4 separate regions of the Homo sapiens genome follow, and regions 2, 3 and 4 are each linked to region 1. Evidence: promoter capture Hi-C in 16 types of primary human blood cells and fetal thymus (Javierre and others, 2016). All regions are on one chromosome and are shown on one strand. The core of a region is centred on a gene start or on the middle of the fragment in contact, and the rest is flanking DNA. Distances in the headings are between cores, read along the strand shown.

Region 1 (3,288 bases), core at 445-2,944:
CAGCACCCAGCCTTTTTTTTTTTTTTTTTAAGGCTTAGTTCAACTCTTGTTGAGTAGTAATTTCAGTTAGTCTGATTTAAATAAAACCAAAATAGATAAATAATCTAATAATGGAATGACTTTTTCCCATCCTCATTATTATTTTCTTGGTCCACGGTTTATCTGTTGTCAGGTTAACCTCTTGGGCCTGAAGTGGTAATAAACTAACAGGCTTTCTTTGTCACTTTGGCAATACAAGTTTCGGTATTGTTCTCTGCTACCCAGTGGGACAGATATTAAAGTCAGCAATGGCCCAAGACAGTGTGAAACACCGCCGCCCCCCCCCGCCAACTCCCCGCCCCAAACAAGCAATAAAGAGATCTAGAGAAGGAAGGGTGAATTGATGAGCCCTTCAGGGAGAGCTGGATCACAAAGGTGGTCTCTGTCGAAGATCAGAGAGACTGAGGGTCTACTGGACATCACAGGCCATTATCATTTGGGCCAAGATCCACCCATCCTCTTTATTTTCTCACTCTCTCTCAAGAGGAGACTCCTCCGGGGTTTAGAAAAGCTGCATGGATGCACCTCTCCACTTTTCTGCACAAGTATGCCTTCCATTTCACAGAAGTGTTATCTGTTAGAAATCCCAACAGATAGCTGATGAGGACAGAGCCTGAGCACTTCTGAATTGCTCTGCCAATTTCTCAACCTAATTTCCCTAAAGCTTAAGGGCCTCTTAGAGTGTATACAACATCTATTTCCAAATTTTGTCCTGGCCCTGGCCCAGCCCAGCCAAGCCCAGCCCAGCATAGGTGTGCTGTTAAAACTTAATCAGGAGAAAGGGATTCTTATCCTGGCCCTACCACTTAGTAGCTGTGTGACCCTGGGTAAGTCATTTACACTTTTCAGTCTCGGTTTCCTCATCTGCAAAATGGAGATAGAAATATCAACCCGAAGGGCTATTGTAAGAATTATATGACAAAAAGTGAAGGCTCTTTGTACAGTGCTAGGCTCATAGTGGCTGCTCATTCGCTCATCCATTCCTTCGTTCCTTGAATTCACCAAGCCTTCTCCATCTTCCTAGCTCCCCCTTGTCATCGCCTCTCGAAACCTTTTCCCCCCAAAAGGTTGCCTTCCAGTTATCTTCCTTCCATCCCACCTCCATTTTTCCAGACTCTCCGGATCCTCTCAATCAGAAGCAACACAGACACCTACATCCCTCTTCTCCCCCATATTCTCCTTACCTGGCGACCGGGCCCCCAGCACAGCAGTGGCAGCAGCAGCCGCTGCCGCAAACAAGCTCCCCCAGGACAGCTCCAGCCCGGAGTCCACCTGAGCCATTTGTCCCCGCCCCCTCCCTCAGCCCTGCTCCAGGATTGGGCCGTTTCCGTCAGTACTCTCTCTGATTGGCTGTCCCGGTTTCGCCCGAGCAGGAGATGGGGAGTGAACCCCTTTACTGCCAATCAGCGGTTGCCGCTGCCTAAGCCTCTCCCCAGGTACGCCGCTCACGCCGTAAGCCCTCCTGTTGGACCTAGCGGAACTCCGGGTTTGGAGTCAACCTCTTAGGGGCGGAGAAAAAAACAGCGGAAAAAAAAAAAAAAAAGAAGACTCCCTTCAGCTGAGGGCAGGGCTCTGCGCCCGCGCTGCGCGGCGGTGACGACATTCGCCCGCGTCCGCAGCTGAGCGTTATGAGCGCCTGCGCAGTGGCTCCGAGCGGGCGGTTGCTTGTTGGTTGTTGTAGTAACCGGGGAAGCAGCCGTCGGCGGCTGCCCTGAGCCTTCCTGGGGAAGGAGGAGGGAGGTAGGCGCAGAGCGCGGTCCACGCCTGCTCGCCCCGAACCATGGGAAGATGAGACAGGTAAACGCCTGCGCCCGCGCGCTTCCCTACCCTAGGGAGGAGCATTCCCGGGTCCGGGCTGGCGCCTGCAGCAGGACTTCCCGCTCAGAGCCCGGGAGTAGCTGTTGGCTTCCGGGCGCGCCGCGTTGAATCGCGGCTGCGGGGTCGTCCCGTCCTTCCCGGGGGGAGCATCTGCGGACCTACGTGGGATTGGGGTGAGCTGGGGGTGGGGCTGAGAAGCAGATTCCTTTCGGGAGAGGAGTCTCCTTAGGTGAGTATCTCTACTCTTCTTCCGATAGACCTGTTTCTCCCCGCTCTGCAGGCAGCCTAGGAGAGGTTGGCATCCCTTCCCGTTTGGAGGTTTTGTTTGTTTAAACTTAAAGGGCTTCCCAGCATTTTGGGAAAGATCAAGAAATCCCGTTGAGAATCCCCTGAAGAAAGCCATTGAAGTTGTTAGACATTGCCTATTGCGCCGAAGATCTTTGATCATTATCGGGGTCTGTTTTTTTTTTGTCTTATTTACAGTCTCATCGTATTTATGAATGCATGGAAAAGTTAAGAAGGATTGACAGCAAGTAATTATCGCTGAGTAATTTGGGATTATGGTCATTTAAACATGTTTCTTTTATTTGTAGTTCCTATTTCTTCTTCTGACACACACAACGAACATGTACTTTTTTACTTTAGAAAAAATATTTTAAGTTAGAAATGCAGTGTTGGAAATTTCCTAATTTCATCGTCTATTTGAGAGTCGTACCAAACTTTGTGATTTTTAGGAAGAATAATTTTTAAGAGTGGAAGGGCATTCCTCCCCTCCCCCACCTATTTATATGGACCTTTGATTCAAGAGAATATATTCATCTTTCGGTTCATTGTTGAATTTATTTTACTGGAAACATGATGGCATCTTGTCAGCGTGCTTGTCATAGAGTCTAAATAAATGTTGGCAGGGGTTTTTTGTTGTTTTTTTTTTTTTGAGACGGAGTTCACTCTTGTTGCCCAGGCTGGAGTGCAATGGCGCGATCTTGGCTCACCGCAACCTCCGCCTCCCGGGTTCAAGCGATTCTCCTCCCTCAGCCTCCCGAGTAGCTGGGATTACAGGCATGAGCCAGCACACCCGGCTAATTTTTTGTATTTTTTTTTTTTTTTTTTAGTAAAGACGGGGTTTCTCCATGTTAGTCAGGCTGGTCTCGAACTCCCGACCTCAGGTGATCCGCCCGCCTTGGCCTCCCAAAGTACTGGGATTACAGGCGTGAGCCACCCTGCCCGGCCTGCAAGGGTCTTAAACCTTGAGTTTTTATTTATTTATTTTTAACCCAGGCCAGGTTTGTCTAGCAAGGAATATATGTTTTAGGGAATCAGTCACCTGCCTCAAACTGAGTGAAAGTGAGGAGTCTATCCTTTTGGTGCATATTCGATTTAGTAAATAATGAGAAACTCAAACTTAGTAACAGCTCTTCAAATATATAGAGC
Region 2 (3,288 bases), core at 566-3,065, 950 kb before region 1:
CACAGTGGCTCACGTCTGTAATCCCAGAACTTTGGGAGGCCGAGGTGGGCAGATCACCTGAGGTCAGGAGTTTGAGACCAGCCTTGCCAACATGGTGAAACCCATCTCTATTAAAAATACAAAAATTAGCAAGGTATGGTGGCACACACATGCCTGCAGTCCCAGCTACTCGGGAGGCTGAGGCAGGAGAATTGCTTGAACCTGGGAGGGGGAGGTTGCTGTGAGCCGAGATTGCGCCACTGCACTCCAACCTGGGCAGCAGAGGGAGGCTCTGTCTCAAAAATAAAATAAAATAAAATAAAATAAAATTGGCATAAAATTCCAACCCTGCCACACATCCTCAAGTTGGAAGACACACAATGGTAACAACAGAAAACACTCTGAGTAGTCTGGTTTACACTCTTCTAGGGACCTCGCATGTTAACTATGAATAAACATAAGTCCTGATAACATCCCAATAAAAGAGTGCTACTATGATTATCTCCATTTTACAGATAAAGAAACTGAGATGCAGATAGATTAACTCACCCAATGTCATGGCGAGTTATAAGGCAGAGCAAGGATTTTAACCCCATCAGTCAGACTCCAAAGTTCGTGTTAAACAATAAACGTGTTTTCATCATAAGGGTTATACAATGGTCACCTTCTTTTTTAAACCTGATAACATATTTTACTTCCAACTCTAGGATAGCATCATGCAATAAGAAAAGTATGACAGAGGTACCCATTCCGTTCCCAGCTTGATCAGTAGCTGGAGAATGGAAGACAAAGTGCAAAAAAAAAAAAAAAAAAAAAAAAAAAAAGAAAAAAAAAGAAAGAAAGAAAGAAAGAAAAAGAAAAAAAGAAATACAAGTACAGACTTTGGAATCACGAGACTCAAACAGACCCCTGAACAAAGTCTGGGGCTCAATTTCCCCATATGTAAAATAAAAGAATTTATGTTATTGAGAAGGTCAAAGAAGGTAATATGAATAAAGTGACAAGTACAGTATACAGGATGGGGGTTTTCATTTAAAGTTTACAGACACCCAGAGGGTCCACGGATGGGCTTCAGAGTCCACCAATCTCATTAAGTGTATTACAAACTGTATGTGTGCCCATTTTTTAAAGAATTGTTCCTGGCTTTCCACAAACTTTCAAGAAATAAGTTATCTCCAAAAAGTTAAGAACCACTGGAATACATAGCAGGTACTCAAAGAAAAAAGCTACCTTTCGCTCCTTGTTCTCACAAATTCTCCCTTTTTACTTAAAGATGACACACCAAGGCTTCACAATAAATGTGCATTGTATCTCACCATTTTCTTGGCTTGGGTAAGTAGTAACATATGCAAGCTTATGCCCCAATTCTCTAGCGATAGTCTAGGCCCTCAAACACTGCTTCATTTCTCTCTTCACCGAGAGGAGTACACGGTATATACTCGAGAACAATCATCCACCTAGCTGCACAAAGCACCATATCGGCTAGGAAAACCAAATAGGAACCACAGCCTCAGGGCTGGACCATAGACACCGGATACCCCAACGCTACAGGGTGAGGAGAATGTGTTCCCCCAAACTACTGGGCAAACCAGGAGTCTGAACCCCCCTACCCTTTTCCTCCCTCTCTCTCTGGAACTCTGGTAAAGGCAGGTCTTCTGGGCTCTGCCTAAGGCTGGAGAGAAACGTTACCCGAGCCGGGGGTTGCAGCGCGACGAAGTTCCACCTCCGCTGTCCTGGGAAGGGGCGGCAGCACTCAGCAGAAGACGGGCTCCCCACTCTCCCACCAACAGACCCCAGAGTTGGTCTCCACCCGGCCTGGGAACCGGCTCGGGGGATTGCCCTTTCCCCAAGGAGTTTCCGCTTCCGGGCTATCCTTTGCCGGAAGCAGTATGTGAATGACGTAGAAGTATTGCGCCGTTGGTGATTACGGAAGAACCAGGAGTTTGGCGTGACCATGGTGAGAGAAGACGGTCCAAGAAGGGACGTTATCAGGCCACTTTTTGGGTGGAGAAGGAGGTAGTCAGACCGTGGCCAAATTTCCTTCACATTATCCTAGCATATTTTCATTCTGGTCTTAGCTCTTAAACTTCTCCAAGCGGTGACTGTTATGCTTTACAGAGTGGGGAAGAGGGTCTGGGTTATTTGAGGCAAGAAGGGAAGGCAATAGACAAGAGAAAAGAAGAGACTTTAAAAGATGCCGTGTGTTTCCAACTTTTTTAATTCTAAAATTTCTGTTTCAAGGGGAAGCAAAAGAAAACAAGGAAGTATGCGACCATGAAGCGAATGCTTAGTCTCAGAGATCAGAGGCTGTGAGTGTCTGGAATCAACTGCCCAGGGATATTCTAATAAGAGTCTAGAGAGGATAAGTAGTAAAAATGTTTGTTGTTATTATTTTGTTTTTTGCTTATTATCGTGTCTTAGATTTATATAGCATGAGATAGCCAGTGTTTAACAGTAATTTAGCTGCTGAGCGATCACACTGGGAAAGGCGATGGGAATTAAACATTTCTTAAGTGTTCACTTTTTCTACCGTTATATGCTTTGTCTGCCATATCGCATTTAAACCTCATGTCAGTTCGGTGAAGTCCGTATAGTTCTCTTTATGTTTTTACCATTACACTACTACATTCCCCTGGGGTGGGGCGAGGGGAGTGTTTCTTGTTGAAAGATGGCAAGGTTAGAGACCTTGTTTGTCTGGCGTTTCCAGTGCCTGGTACTCAAATATTTTTGTCAGAGAAAATGGGAAAACTCCAAGATATCTCCATTTTATAAGTCTTACTAATATAAGAATCCAAATCACTGTGGAAGAAGAAAGTGAAGTGAAATTCCCTAGTATGAAGAGGATCAAAGCGGTGTCCCTGCTTAAGTGTAGAATAAGCATAGCTATTAAATAAAGACTGATCTTCACTGAGTTTAAGAGTCTCAGAAAGCCGGGCGCAGTGGCTCACGCCTGTAATCCCAGCACTTTGGGAGGCTGAGGCGGGTGGATCACCTGAGGTGAGGAGTTCAAAACCAGCCTGGCCAACACGGTGAAACCCTGTCTCCACTAAAAATACAAAAAAGAGTCTCAGAATAAGAGAATAGTCGTTAAAACCTTCAGAATTATTATTCTCAGCCTTTAGTGTGGATGTATTGTGTAATTTTTAGGAATGACACTCCATTAATAATAATTTCTTTCTAGTTAAGGGTTAAGTTCTGTATATGCGTTTTTACATTTTAGCCCTTTATAAGAAGCATATGGGGTAATACTTTTCCCCCAAAAGTTAAAGCATCTGAATCTTCAGAAGATAACTGTCACCCTTTTACCCA
Region 3 (3,288 bases), core at 272-2,771, 780 kb before region 1:
GCCAGGCTGGTCTTGAACTCCTGATCTCAAGTGATCCACCCACCTCATCCTCCCAAAGTGATGGGATTACAGGCGTGAGCTACCACACCAGGCTCAGAAGGATCTTTGACACAGATATAAAGGATGATGGGCTAGAGAAAGCGAGAGCGGAGGCTTAGAACTGCTTAGGGAGCTTTTCAAATAATTCAGGTGAAAGCTACTGAGGAGTTAATTGTGGGTAGCAGCAGGGCAGAGCTGTTTTCTCTATTTCTAGTTAGGACTTTGGCCCATCCTTCCAGAATTTCAGTGGCAGTGCTTTCAGGGTTCAGGTGAGTGAAGGCACTGTAAAGGTCCTGATGGAATTTGAGGCCAGCCTGGGCAACATAGTGAGACCCCGTCTCAATTTATATTAAAACATAAATTAATTAGAAAAATAAAAAATAAAGGTCCTGAGGGCCAGGCAAAATGCCTCAGATAAAGAAATCATCATGAACGGCACCAAGTGGTTCATTCATTCATTCATACATTTATGTGTTACTAATTCAGCCAGAGGTTTAAAGCACATCTTTTTCATTAGGAAGGTGAGCCTTAAAGGTGAATACTCAAGGGGCCTGAATACTTAAGGAGGGGAAGGGGATGCTATATGCTTTCACTTCAAGTCAGCGGGAAGAATGGCACACTCAAAGTGGGGAGGTCAGCCTGGCATGGTGGCACCTGTAGTCCCAGCTACTCCAGAGGCTGAGGCAGAGGGATCGCTTGAGCCCAGAGTGTCGAGGCTCCAGTGAACTATGACCTTGTTTCTTAAAAAAACAGCTGGGAGTTTATATTCTAGGGATAGGGTGACAAACGAACAACTTCCAAAATGCACAAGATGTATGGGGAACAATTAGTTTGGCTGGAATTTGCGTTGGGGGGAGATCAGAAGCTGTTGAGAAATAAGGCTATAGTTGGTGAAGATATCCGACTCGTAAAAAGGCAATGGGATTTAGAAATTCCTGGGATTCTGTTTCTTTGACTCGGGGTTAGGAAGACAGGGAAGTAACAAGTGCCTTTTTTTTTTTTTTTAATAGTTAAGGGACCTGAGACTGGGGGTGGGGGGCAATGTCATCTGCCCCAGGCCACACAAGTGTAAGATCAGGCATGCATGTCTGCCAAGGTTTCAGTTCAATGTCCGTGCCCCTCTTTTGCTCTCTTCCCAAGGTACAGAGGCGGAACGGCGCGGTGCCCTCGGGTCCCAAGAGAGAAGGGCGCCAAGCTCAGAGCCAGTTCTGTGGAAGGGTAGGGGAAGGCCTGACCCCGGGGGCAATGTGGTGGCGGGACAGTCGTATACACCTTCAGGAGAACCACCTCAGGCTGACAGGCAGTGCGGAGGGCCCCAAGAGCGCCTTAGGGTTGCCTGCTCCAGAGAGCGGGACTCCTGCGCTGCAGCCGGGATACTGGGCGCCGCCGTGCGCCCACCCCCTGCCAGTGGTTCGCTCCGAACACCCCTCGTCGGGCGGCGGGTACTGCGGCCCGCCCCACTTCCGGTTGTTGTCCGGCCCTATATCCGGTGTCCGCCCGCCCTCGGCTCCTCCGCCGTGATGCTGTCCCGATCCCGCTGTGTGTCTCGGGCGTTCAGCCGCTCGCTCTCCGCCTTCCAGAAGGTACGGTCTGGCCGAGCCGGGGCCCCGACGGGTGAGGAGTCTGTTGGCGGGCAGAGAGGCGGCCTGGAAGGCAGGGGCGCGGCGCGCCGGCCGGGCCGGGCACCAAGGGCACTGGGACGCGGAGGCCGCGCGGGCTGGGCGGCCCGGGGCCGTGGTTGCCCTCGGGACCGTTTTGCGGAGCCCAGCGGCCCCCTGCCTTCTCCAGGCAGCCTGCGGGGAACGTTTCCTGCTGTACCCCACCCTCCGCGCGGGAGCTGGGGAGCCGCGCCCGTCCAGATACTTGACTCAGAGTTAGGGAGGAGGCGCGGCGGAGTCCTCCGGCGGGATTCGGCGCCCGTCTCGTCTTGCTCTGTTAAAATCAGTGGGTATTAATGAGTCCCGTTGGGAAGTTGAGATAGTTTGGCAGGCCCAGCGTGTTGATTGGGTCTGCCAGCACGGTGTGTTGCATTTACCTTCGGAGTTACGAGATTCACCTGTCACCACCACTGGGACAGCTTTGAGCGTGTACTTAAAAGAAAAAGCTGGGTTTTTTTTTCATCTTGGGTGACGTCGATAATGTCTTCTTTCTCAACAGGGGAACTGCCCTCTAGGGAGACGTTCCCTGCCTGGTAAGTTCTGCCCTTACCGTCACCTAAAATGCTCTCCTCCTGGGCAGAGCAGTATGTGAGGAACTCGGGGGTGCCTGTGTTTCTCATAATATTTAAAGACAGTTTGGTTCAGAGAGTAGTGAGACGCAATGCTACATAATCACGAGCTATCGCTTATTCATTTAGCTCGTAGTTGAGTTTCTACTGTGTTAGGCACTGTGCTAGACGCTAGGGATACAGGAGTGGATACAGAAGTGTACAGTTCTTGCCCTCGTGGAGCTCCTAGGCTAGTTGGATAGTGTCAGTTGCTAAACAAGCCAACAAAGGCAAATTTTTGTAACTGCTGAGAAGGAAACGAGGGTGGACAGAAGAGCCCTTTTTGAGGAGGTGACTTAAAAGTTATGGCCATGGCCGGGCGCGGTGGCTGACGCCTGTAATCCCAGCACTCTGGGAGGCTGAGGCGGGCGGATCACGAGGTCAGGAGATCGAGACCATCCTGGTTAACACGGTGAAACCCCATCTCTACTAAAAAATACAAAAAATTAGCCGGGCGTGGTGGCAGGCGCCTGTAGTCCCAGCTCCTCGGGAGGCTGAGGCACGAGAATGGCGTGAAGCCGGGAGGCGGAGCTTGCAGTGAGCCGAGTTCGCGCCACTGCACTCCAGCCTGGGCGACAGAGCGAGACTCCATCTCAAAAAAAAAAAAAAAAAAAAGTTATGGCTAGCAGAATGTGACGGAGCTAACCCAGTGAAGCCCAGGAGAAAGAGAATGGCATTCACAAAGACCCTGAGGAAGAAAAGAGGTTGGCAGAACTTAAGAGCTGGAAAAAAGGTGATTTGGCCGGAGTATTTTGGTTAAGGGAGAGAGTGGCAAGAGATAGAAGATGGTATAGAGACTGAAGGAGTTTAGATTTTATCCTAGCAGTTAAAAAGAAAAAAGTGTCATCCATAGCTTTTTTTCTGTTATATGCCTAGCCTAAGTATTTGTTGAATGAGTTGACCTTGTTGTGGGCTTTCTTTGTGCCAAGCATTTATATGAGTGCTTTCTGTGAATTTTTTAGTTAATCATCTCAAAACAGTAA
Region 4 (3,288 bases), core at 384-2,883, 660 kb before region 1:
TAGTTTTTGTATCCTTGCTAAACTTATGTTCTAGGAGGTTTTGTTTTTGTTGCTGTTGACTCTGGGATTTTCTGTGTACACTATCATGTCTTCTGTGAACAGGGACAGTTTCTTTCCATTCTGTATGCTTTTTCTTTTTCTTGCCTTATTGCAAGGGCTAGGACTTCACGTATAATTTAAATAGGAGTGGTGAAAGTAGACATCCTTGCCTTGTCCTGATCTTAGGGAGAAAGCAATCTTTTACTGTGAAGTATGATTTTTAGGTGTAGGATTTTGTAGATACCCTTTATCGAGTTCAGGAAGTTCCCTTTTGTTCTAGTTTTCTGAGAGTTTGTACCATGAATATTGAATTTTGTCAAATGTTTCTTCCTGCATCAATTGACATGATCATGTGGTTTTACTTCTCAGATTGTTAATATGGCATATTACATTGATTTTTAAGTGTTTAATCAGCTTTGCATTCCAGGTTTATGTTTCACTTTGTAATTACATATTATTCTTTTTTTATGTATTGCAGGATTTGATGTGCTAATAATTTGTTGCAATTTTTGCTTCTATGTTCATGAGAGATATTAATCTGTAATTTTCTTTTCTTTGTACTACCTTTGGCTAACTTTGGTATTGACATAATCTTTTTGGAGGGCAATTTGTTAATTGTAACAAAAGTCTAAAATGTGCTCGCCTATGGATTCCACTTTGAAGAATTTATCTTAAGGAAATAGAGATTTCTATTACACACATACTTTGGGTTCAGGTAGACCTGGATTTAAGTATGAACCCAATCCTTTATTAACTGCTTAAATTCTGTGGGTCTGTTTCCCAATCTGTAAAATGGGGATAAGAGGACCTATTTCAGACCTTATTAACTGAGACAATTCACACACAGTGCCCAAGAACCAGTAAGCTTTAAGTAAATGGTAACTCTTGGTATTATGTTATACTCTCTGGCCTCTCTGTAGGAGGACAATTCTGTCCAAATCAGAGGATGTCATCTTTGCTTCTGTATTGGCTCCCACTTTGAATCTCCTTAATCTTCCTCATCTCTAATTTCGCCGTCTTCTGTTAGACGTGTTAGGCCTTGAGAATACAAAAGCAACAAAAGATATCGTCCTTGTTTTCAGAGACATGAACCTCCTAGACACAGGCGCAAACGGTACCAAGCAATGTAACAGAACAAAAGTGAGACGTCTGCCCAAGGGGCAGCCGACCCTGGACATGCATTCAGAGCGTCAGTGTCAGCTGACACTCGGGAGTGACAGCTCGGGCAGTCACCGAGCTGGGAAGACAGGAGGGAGTGCCGCAACTTCTTCAGTGTAGCCTTAAGTCGCGGTGAGGGGCGCGTAGAGACTTGCTGCTCCCATAGCAACGGGACCAGCCACCCTCTACAGGCCTGACGGGTTACTTCCGTTCACCGTCGGCTGAGCCAAGAAAGGCCGCTTCCGATCCTCCAGCCCCCGAGGCGCGGGGGCGCGCGGACGCCCGGTTATAACTGAACAACCCGAGCCCCACGTCTCTGATTGGCTCAGGCAGAGGAAGGGGGCGGGAGATCGGCAACGAAGGGCGTAGCCGGCTTCCACTCAAACTTGAGGTTTCCCCCCATCCCCTCACAGCGGAAGCCGACCTCGCCCGCCCCGGAAGTGCAAACTGTGTGGTCTGGCAGGTGTGGATTCCGCCGGTGAAGGCTGAAGGCAGCTACCTTAAAGATGCCGGGATCCGCAGCGAAGGGCTCGGAGTTGTCAGAGAGGATCGAGAGCTTCGTGGAGACCCTGAAGCGGGGTGGTGGGCCGCGCAGCTCCGAGGAAATGGCTCGGGAGACCCTAGGGTTGCTGCGCCAGATCATCACGGACCACCGCTGGAGCAACGCGGGTGAGGCCGGCCTGCCTCCGCCGGCGAACCTGGCCCCTGTCTGTTCCCGATCCCAGGGCTGAAAATTTCCCAGGCCTCACTTCGCGTTGGCTCCTCTTATCCTCTCTCTTTTGGACTGTAGGGGAGCTGATGGAGCTGATCCGCAGAGAGGGCAGGAGGATGACGGCCGCTCAGCCCTCCGAGACCACCGTGGGCAACATGGTGCGGAGAGTGCTCAAGATTATCCGGGAGGAGTATGGCAGGTCAGGCTCACGTCCTGGGCTCCTGGTTGGATCCAGTGACACTTTTTGCACGGGCCCCTCTACCTGCTCGGAGACTTTATTGGAGCTGAACAGCCCTTGTTACCTGCCTGACCACTCCTCCCCACCTCTCTCTTTGGGTCTTGTTGCCTCTATAGACTCCATGGACGCAGCGACGAGAGTGATCAGCAGGAGTCCCTGCACAAACTGTTGACATCCGGAGGCCTAAACGAGGATTTCAGCTTCCATTATGCCCAACTCCAGTCCAACATCATTGAGGCGATTAATGAGCTGCTAGTGGAGCTGGGTAAGAGGCCTGATCGCTGGGAAAATGGGACTGGTCACAGGCACATAAGGGAACAGAAGCCTCTGAAGGTTGTTCATTAGCAGAGATGGGAGATTAGCTGTCTTCTGGTTCTCAGAGGTTTGTCCTCCTTCCTGATTAGGAAATGTTGCAACAGGTGACAGGACCAAAGTAATCCTCTCTACTTTTCCTTACAGACCAACCCTTGATAGACTACAGATCTGTGGAGTGGAACAGACTCTATTAGGACAGAGTTTTATTTTCATTGTAAAGAAACAAAATGAACTCCCTAGAGAGCCAAGGTCGATAGACCTCCTTCACTATCTGAATTTTTATACACACGTACACGTATACCATTTCTATCCCCCTTGTCATTGCGGTCCAAGTGACTTGCAGATATTCATTGTAATCAGAGGATGAAGAAGCTGCTTCCAAATTGCTCCCCCATTTTTTCTTCTCTGGCCAGTCTCTCTCATGTAGAAGTGTTGTGGCCACCTTTTGGAGGAAGACTTCTTTTAGGCCGAAGCTCTCTTTACCCTATTCTCAGCACTTTAGGATTTCCCAGATTGCCATTCCTTGGCTGAATCTACTGTCTTCAAAATCAGTTGTAAGGAGCTCTGTAGTGACAGAGGTGGTTCATAGGTAGGGGTACTTCTGGAAGAGGGCAGGCAGAAAATCCCAGAGGAGTGGGGCTTTTAAGAAATTGTGACATAGCTGGGCATGGTGGCTCACACCTGTAATCCCACAACTTTGGGAGGCCAAGGTGAGTGGATTGCTTGAGACCAGGAGTTCAAAACCAGCCTGGGCAACATAGTGGGACCCTGTCTCTATTAAAAAAAAAGAAATTGTGACATTTCACTTTAAGCACATTAACCCTGT

Evidence for each region. The method cuts DNA at HindIII sites, captures the fragments that hold promoters and counts their contacts. A CHiCAGO score of 5 or more calls a contact.
Region 2: the fragment with the promoter of AREL1 here is called in contact with the fragment with the promoter of TTLL5 in region 1 in 7 of 17 cell types (fetal thymus, non-activated CD4 T cells, naive CD8 T cells and 4 more); the score reaches 10.9 in fetal thymus.
Region 3: a contact is called between the fragment with the promoter of DLST here and the fragment with the promoter of TTLL5 in region 1, in 3 of 17 cell types (neutrophils, monocytes and activated CD4 T cells). The highest score is 6.9, in neutrophils.
Region 4: the fragment with the promoter of EIF2B2 here is called in contact with the fragment with the promoter of TTLL5 in region 1 in 4 of 17 cell types (naive CD8 T cells, fetal thymus, naive CD4 T cells and 1 more); the score reaches 6.2 in naive CD8 T cells.

What each region holds. Positions count from the first base shown.
Region 1 is chr14:75,659,552-75,662,839 of GRCh38, forward strand. TTLL5 (tubulin tyrosine ligase like 5) reads left to right here and starts at 1,695. Exons shown (of 32, transcript NM_015072.5): 1 at 1,695-1,836. ERG28 (ergosterol biosynthesis 28 homolog) reads right to left here and starts at 1,325. Exons shown (of 5, transcript NM_007176.4): 1 at 1,224-1,325. RefSeq lists a silencer at 1,387-1,436 and an enhancer at 1,547-1,766. The HindIII fragment of the contact is 4,369 bases long and covers 702-3,288 here.
Region 2 is chr14:74,711,265-74,714,552 of GRCh38, forward strand. It overlaps AREL1 (apoptosis resistant E3 ubiquitin protein ligase 1), which reads right to left and starts at 1,816. Exons shown (of 20, transcript NM_001039479.2): 1 at 1,669-1,816. FCF1 (FCF1 rRNA-processing protein) reads left to right here and starts at 1,880. Exons shown (of 8, transcript NM_015962.5): 1 at 1,880-1,936; 2 at 2,221-2,288. The coding sequence starts at 1,934. RefSeq lists an enhancer at 1,714-1,993. The HindIII fragment of the contact is 16,377 bases long and covers 1,331-3,288 here.
Region 3 is chr14:74,880,395-74,883,682 of GRCh38, forward strand. DLST (dihydrolipoamide S-succinyltransferase) reads left to right here and starts at 1,522. Exons shown (of 15, transcript NM_001933.5): 1 at 1,522-1,622; 2 at 2,197-2,230. The coding sequence starts at 1,560. RefSeq lists silencers at 1,454-1,680, 1,537-1,866. The HindIII fragment of the contact is 10,796 bases long and covers 1-3,288 here.
Region 4 is chr14:75,001,288-75,004,575 of GRCh38, forward strand. It overlaps EIF2B2 (eukaryotic translation initiation factor 2B subunit beta), which reads left to right and starts at 1,634. Exons shown (of 8, transcript NM_014239.4): 1 at 1,634-1,866; 2 at 1,988-2,108; 3 at 2,264-2,412. The coding sequence starts at 1,704. RefSeq lists enhancers at 1,181-1,270, 1,312-1,992. The HindIII fragment of the contact is 8,033 bases long and covers 903-3,288 here.